Regions from separate parts of the Homo sapiens genome. Here region 1 is linked to region 2. The links are contacts of gene promoters, found by promoter capture Hi-C in blood cells and fetal thymus (Javierre and others, 2016). All regions are on one chromosome and are shown on one strand. Each heading gives the region's core, a stretch centred on a gene start or on the middle of the fragment in contact. The rest is flanking DNA. Distances are from core to core; before and after follow the strand shown.

Region 1 (2,700 bases), core at 37-2,536, 510 kb before region 2:
TGTTATGTTTGGACTTTTGTGCGCAGCATTGTTCTCAGCAGTCACAGATCTGCTGGTTGCAGCAAGATCACCACCATCCTCAGTACTGCCAATTATTTTCCCCAAAGCTGCTCATTTACTCACAAAGGATGGGAAAGCTCAGTTGATTCTGGCTGTGGCTGTAGAAAGCCTAGATTGGAGAAGCCAGACTAGCAATATGCAATGCTCATAAATTAATCCTGGTTTGGAAGAAAAGCTTGACTTACAGGTTTGGATATTCAGTAGCAAAACCCTGTACCCCACAAACTACAATTAAGTATAACCTGTCTTCTGAGTCCAGGGGGACTGAAAGTGACTAAGCCATAAGAATGACCTATATGGCCTCTGGCATTGGAAATTTTCCTTTTACTGAGAAAAAACAGATTAGCATATGCCAATGGCCAGACCATAAATGAAAAAGATTTAATTATTTACCATATAAAAGTATAAAGCATTTGGGGGGAAACTATACTACAAAAAAGAAAGTCAGAGCTGGGTGTGGTGGTGTGCTCCTGTAATCCCAGCTATTTGGGATGCTGAGGCAGGAGGATCACTTGAGCCCAGGAGATAAGAGACCAGCCTGGGCAACACAGGGACACCTTAATCTCAAAAAAAGAAAAACTCAAGAGCTAAACAAGAAACTGGGGGAAAAAAATCTTGCAATATATATGGCAAAGGGTTAATATCCTTAATAAATAAAAAAAGAAGACAGATGGTGAATAATCTTTATTCATCAGTTTCACCAACATATTTGCCCTGAACAGGATTGTCAGCTCTCAGTAGATATCTGGAACTCTATGCTGACTTAGGAGGAAAATTTAAATAGTCTACTGGTAAAAAGAAGTCAGCATTTGTCAGTGACAGTAGAACTGCTAGAAACTAGAGAAATCCAGGAAAAGCATGGCTTCATTTCCATGTTTTCACACTGAGCAAAATGAGGAAAGGAAAGTGTTATATTGGGGCTGAACTGGCACATTTAAAATATAGAACAACTTATAACCCTGTGTTCTGGGGCTTCCTGAAAGTTAACAAAGATCTAGCAAGCTACAGGGGAAATAAATAATAGGAGAATCATTCAATAACAGCTCTGTCTTTAATAAAGCTAATGTTTTGACAATTTTATAATGTTTGTATGGTTTTTGTTTTGTGGTAAGCTCAGAAGTAATCACAAAATATAATATGAAAGCATTATTATGATAAAAATAAAAACAACAAAAACAGATTGAACTAAGAGCAAAGGAAATCAATTCAATACCTTGCATTTCTCAAGGACTGATAGCTACACAGAGGGAGATAGCTACCAATACTGTAATTTGAGGGGCCCTAGAAAGGCTCCAGTGGAGATAATTCCTCTCATTTCCTCCTCTGAAATTCAGCCTTTGAAATTTAATTCGTTAAGATCTCAAACGCCTTTGGTTTCTTATGCTAATAAGGACAAGGATATCAGCCTAAAGTCATTTCCAACTATCACCCTTTCAAGGCCCCAGTGGAAAGAGAATTGAGACTAGAAAATGAGGTGAGAACCCTAAAAAGGGGAAACCTGGGAGGAGGCAAATACACATTTCTAACCATTCTAGTTGTACCAAGGTCAACATATCTCCCAGGCACACACATCACACAGGGACATCTGAAAGGGAGAGAACTGACAAGGAAACCTGCATAGATTCTAGAGCAGGTGCTCGCTAAGGTGTAACTTGCTGGCTTAGAAGGTACTGGCAAAGACACAGGGTTGCAGACATCGACTTCTTAGCAGATATCCTCCCACTCACTGCCTCAGCCTTCAGGGCTTCTTCAGAATTTCACAAATGCACCTTTGTTGTTGTTGTTGTTGTTGTTGTTGTTGTTATTGTTGTTGTGACAGATATTTGCTCTGTTGCCCAGGGTGGAGTGCGATGGTACTGGCTCAGCTCACTGCAACCTCCTCCTCACAGGTTCAAGCAATTCTCCTGCCTCAGCCTCCCAAGTAGCCAGGATTACAGGGGCCCACGACCATGCCTGGCTAATTTTTGTATTTTTAGTAGAGACGGGGTTTCACCATGTTGGCCAGGCTGGTCTGGAACTCCTGACCTCTGGTTATCCACCTGCCTCAGCCTCCCAACTTGAGCCACCGCACCTGGCCACAAATGCACCATTTCAAAGGAGTTTCCCCCAAGATGAATAATTGCCCCAGCGGTGGGCTTCCAACTTCCCTGCAGCCATGCCTGCCCTCTGCATTTGCATATCTTGCTGGGTTTTCACAACAAAAAGAGTTGGTCACAGGTGAATCAGCAGCTCAAGAAAAGCACAAATATTTTTCTGAGAAAATAAAATAAAAAGCTAAAAGCTTGCAAAGCCACCAGATGCTGAATACCTCAGAAAAAGAATTGCTTTGTAATACTGCTTTGAAAGGAGCTTTCTAAGCAGATGAGGTTCTCCCTCCTTCTAAACCACCTCCCAGCAAACCAGATATTCAGGTCATTCTCATTACTTTCTGGGGGTATCTCCATAGTTTAGAAGGCAAGATCACAAATTTTTTTTTTTTTTCCTGAGACAGGGAGCTCTGTTGCCCAGGCTGGAGCGCAGTGGCAGGATCACCACTCACTGCTGCCTCAGGCTCCCAGGCTCAAGCAATTCTTCCATCTCACCCCTATGAGAAGCTGAGACTACAGGCATGCCACCTTGCCTGGCTAATTTTTTTTTTAA
Region 2 (2,700 bases), core at 56-2,555:
TGGGCTGATAGGTGCAGCAAACCACCATGGCACACGTTTATCTATGTAACAAACCTGCAAGTCCTGCACATGTATCCCAGAACATAAAATTAAATTAAACAATAAAAAAATAGAAATACAGATTCTGGAAATCAAGCTTACCAAATTAAACCTTCAGAGGTGGGGGGATGCATTTTAAACAAAAGTCCCAAATGCGTCTTACCATCAGGCTTGTTTGAAAAACACTAATCTAAGGAATACTAAACACTTGGAGAAGGACAAGTTCTTCTCCTGTGTAGACGTGCAATGTGGGTTCAGGGGATGACACTTCAACTCTATATAATGGTGTATTTTTACCTCCAGATCATATAGCCTTTCCCACCCTTGCTTTTCAAAATTAAAAGGATAAATTAAAAAATAATAATAAATATGAGAATATTTTAAAATACTTTCTTTAAGAAGTTTACTACCGTGGAAAGCTGGAGAGGTCCTAATACACTGAAAACTAGCTCACAGCTGCCAGTCAAATTATTTTTATCCAAATTAGCTTTGCACAAAAAGCCAAGTAGGAAAACCCATGCCAAAACCTCCAGCACTGGCTCTGTGTGCCTGGCAGGGGCTCATGCAGAGCCTTTAGAGCATTTAAGACTCTGGGCTATTTGCTTATGGTTCTGAGGTGTCTTTTCGAAAATGGGTTTTCTAGTCAAAATGAAACAAAAAGGCAGACAGCTGTGTGGATTTTCCCTTCAGAGTAAGCCAAGTGACGGAAAGGCCTGCCCGCCCCGCTGGGGACAACAGCGCCAGCACCCGCGCCGTCGGGTCGGGTAGGCTGGGGAGGTAGCGCAGGCGGCCTGGCCCCCAGACCACCCCGCGCCCCTGGCGGCCTGGCCCCAGCCCACCCCGCGCCCCCGGCGGCGGCCCCCGCCCTAGCGCCCGGTACTTGCCTGCAGGCGAGCGCCACCACAGTCAGCCCGCGGCTTTTCTGTCTTCCTTTCTGGCCCAGCGAGAGCGCCCAGGGGGTGGGCGTCTTGCCCCGGGCGTCGAGAGTTTGGGGCCGTCCCGTACGCGGCGCGCCGCAACCCAGTCCCCGCGACCACAGCAGCCTGCTCCCCACCGCGCTTGCAGAGCCCGGACGCGCGTGAGTCGGGGGCCCGCAGAGGCCTCACCCTTGGAGGTCGCCGCTTGTCAGGCCTGACTGCTGTTGGCGCCCACCCCGCCGCCCCCGAGGGGCCGCTCGAGGCCGGACTGCTGCTTTGCCGTGGCAGGCCCCACCCGGGACGTGGCGCTGCGGGCCGGGGCGGTCCAGCTGTGAGTCAGGGGTTAATGTGGCGGGATAACTCTCTGCAGAGGGAAGGAGCTCGCAAAGAAGGGTGGAGGAGGGGAAACCGCAATGGGGAACTGTCACCGAGGCTAGTGGACTCTCCCTGCGCTTTTTTTTTTTTTTTTTTTTTTGGCATGTACCCCAAAAGCCAGAGGTCGAGGCCCAGAAAAATCTGGAAAGGAATTCCACCGTGTTTGCTCCTTACAGACCAGACAAACCGTAGATCTTTCAGAGGTACAGCGACTCTCCTGGTTCCCTAAGATAGTCTCGACTTTTCCTTTCCCTTTGCGGCCCTCTCACTTGACTACTGCAGCCAACCATACCCCTGATTAGGGGGTGCAGCACATCAGCCTCTGCCCCCAAAAACTACCCTGCGAAAGATCCTTTTTCTCAGGTTCGTTCTCCACAACCGAACAGATTGGAACTCCACTGAATAAGAGAGAACAAAAAAGCAATTAGTTAAATGAAGCGTAAAGAAGCCTTATAAAGCCCCATTGCTGCCTCAGGCACCCAATCTAGTCATAACCTAAGAGGTCCAGTTCAGAAATCTCCCCTCCCCTTTTAATTCTCAGGCAATCCCTACTCCCTGCCAAAGGAGAACCCAGTTACTGAACATCGGATGAGACCATGGATAGTAAATTGGGAGTGAAGGTCCATACCTGGGTCTCAGAAGCACAGTACAGGTAAAGCTAAGAGTTATTTCCTCCTTCTCTTTCCCCATCCAACAACAGGATGCCTTACTGAAGGTAGGCACTTCAGGTAGTAATTACTTAGTGAAATGCCGCCAATGTAGTCAGAAATACCGTATTATGTACCGTGTCAACACAATTCATTATTCACGGAGTTGATTCTCCAACCACTGCACCTCCCAACAATTCTACCTGAACTCTTTGGGTAAGCAGTGGCCTCCTAAATCCAACTGATACTTTTGTTGCCCTCATTTTTCCTGGGAGTCTCTTTGGCGATTGACAAAGTCGACCATTGTTTCCCAACACTCTGTTTCCTTGATGTTGACAACCCCACTTTGCCTTTATGCTCATCCTGCTTGTTAAAATTCTTTCAGGCCTGTTGGGAGGCCGAGGCGGGTGAATCACGAGGTCAGGAGATCGAGACCATCCTGGCTAACACGGTGAAACCCCGTCTCTACTAAAAAATACAAAAAATTAGCCGGGAGTGGTGGCAGCTGCCTGTAGTCCCAGCTACTTGGGAGGGTGAGGCAGGAGAATGGCTTGAACCCGGGAGGCGGAGCTTGCAGTGAGCCGAGATCGCGCCACTGCACTCCAGCCTGGGCCACAGAGTGAGACTCCGTCTCAAAAAAAAAAAAAAAAAAAAAAAATTCTTCTTTCAGTTTCCTCTGCCTGTTCCTCTTTCTCTGGCAACCCTTCAAAATCAGAGCTTTT

The links. Contacts are between HindIII fragments. The CHiCAGO score rates a contact against its expected background, and 5 or more counts as called.
Region 1: a fragment that was not itself captured here is called in contact with the fragment with the promoter of TICAM2 in region 2 in 2 of 17 cell types (naive B cells and monocytes); the score reaches 6.5 in naive B cells.

What each region holds. Positions count from the first base shown.
Region 1 is chr5:115,088,842-115,091,541 of GRCh38, forward strand. No RefSeq gene overlaps it. Among named protein-coding and RNA genes, the nearest start is that of TRIM36, 80 kb to the right of the region's middle. RefSeq lists enhancers at 1,683-2,182, 2,183-2,684. The HindIII fragment of the contact is 2,106 bases long and covers 234-2,339 here.
Region 2 is chr5:115,601,174-115,603,873 of GRCh38, forward strand. TICAM2 (TIR domain containing adaptor molecule 2) reads right to left here and starts at 1,306. Exons shown (of 2, transcript NM_021649.7): 1 at 924-1,306. The region is part of intron 3 of TMED7-TICAM2 (TMED7-TICAM2 readthrough); the gene reads right to left. TICAM2-AS1 (TICAM2 antisense RNA 1) reads left to right here and starts at 982. Exons shown (of 3, transcript NR_109875.1): 1 at 982-1,287; 2 at 1,873-1,983. RefSeq lists enhancers at 628-707, 656-1,178 and a silencer at 798-1,297. The HindIII fragment of the contact is 4,479 bases long and covers 135-2,700 here.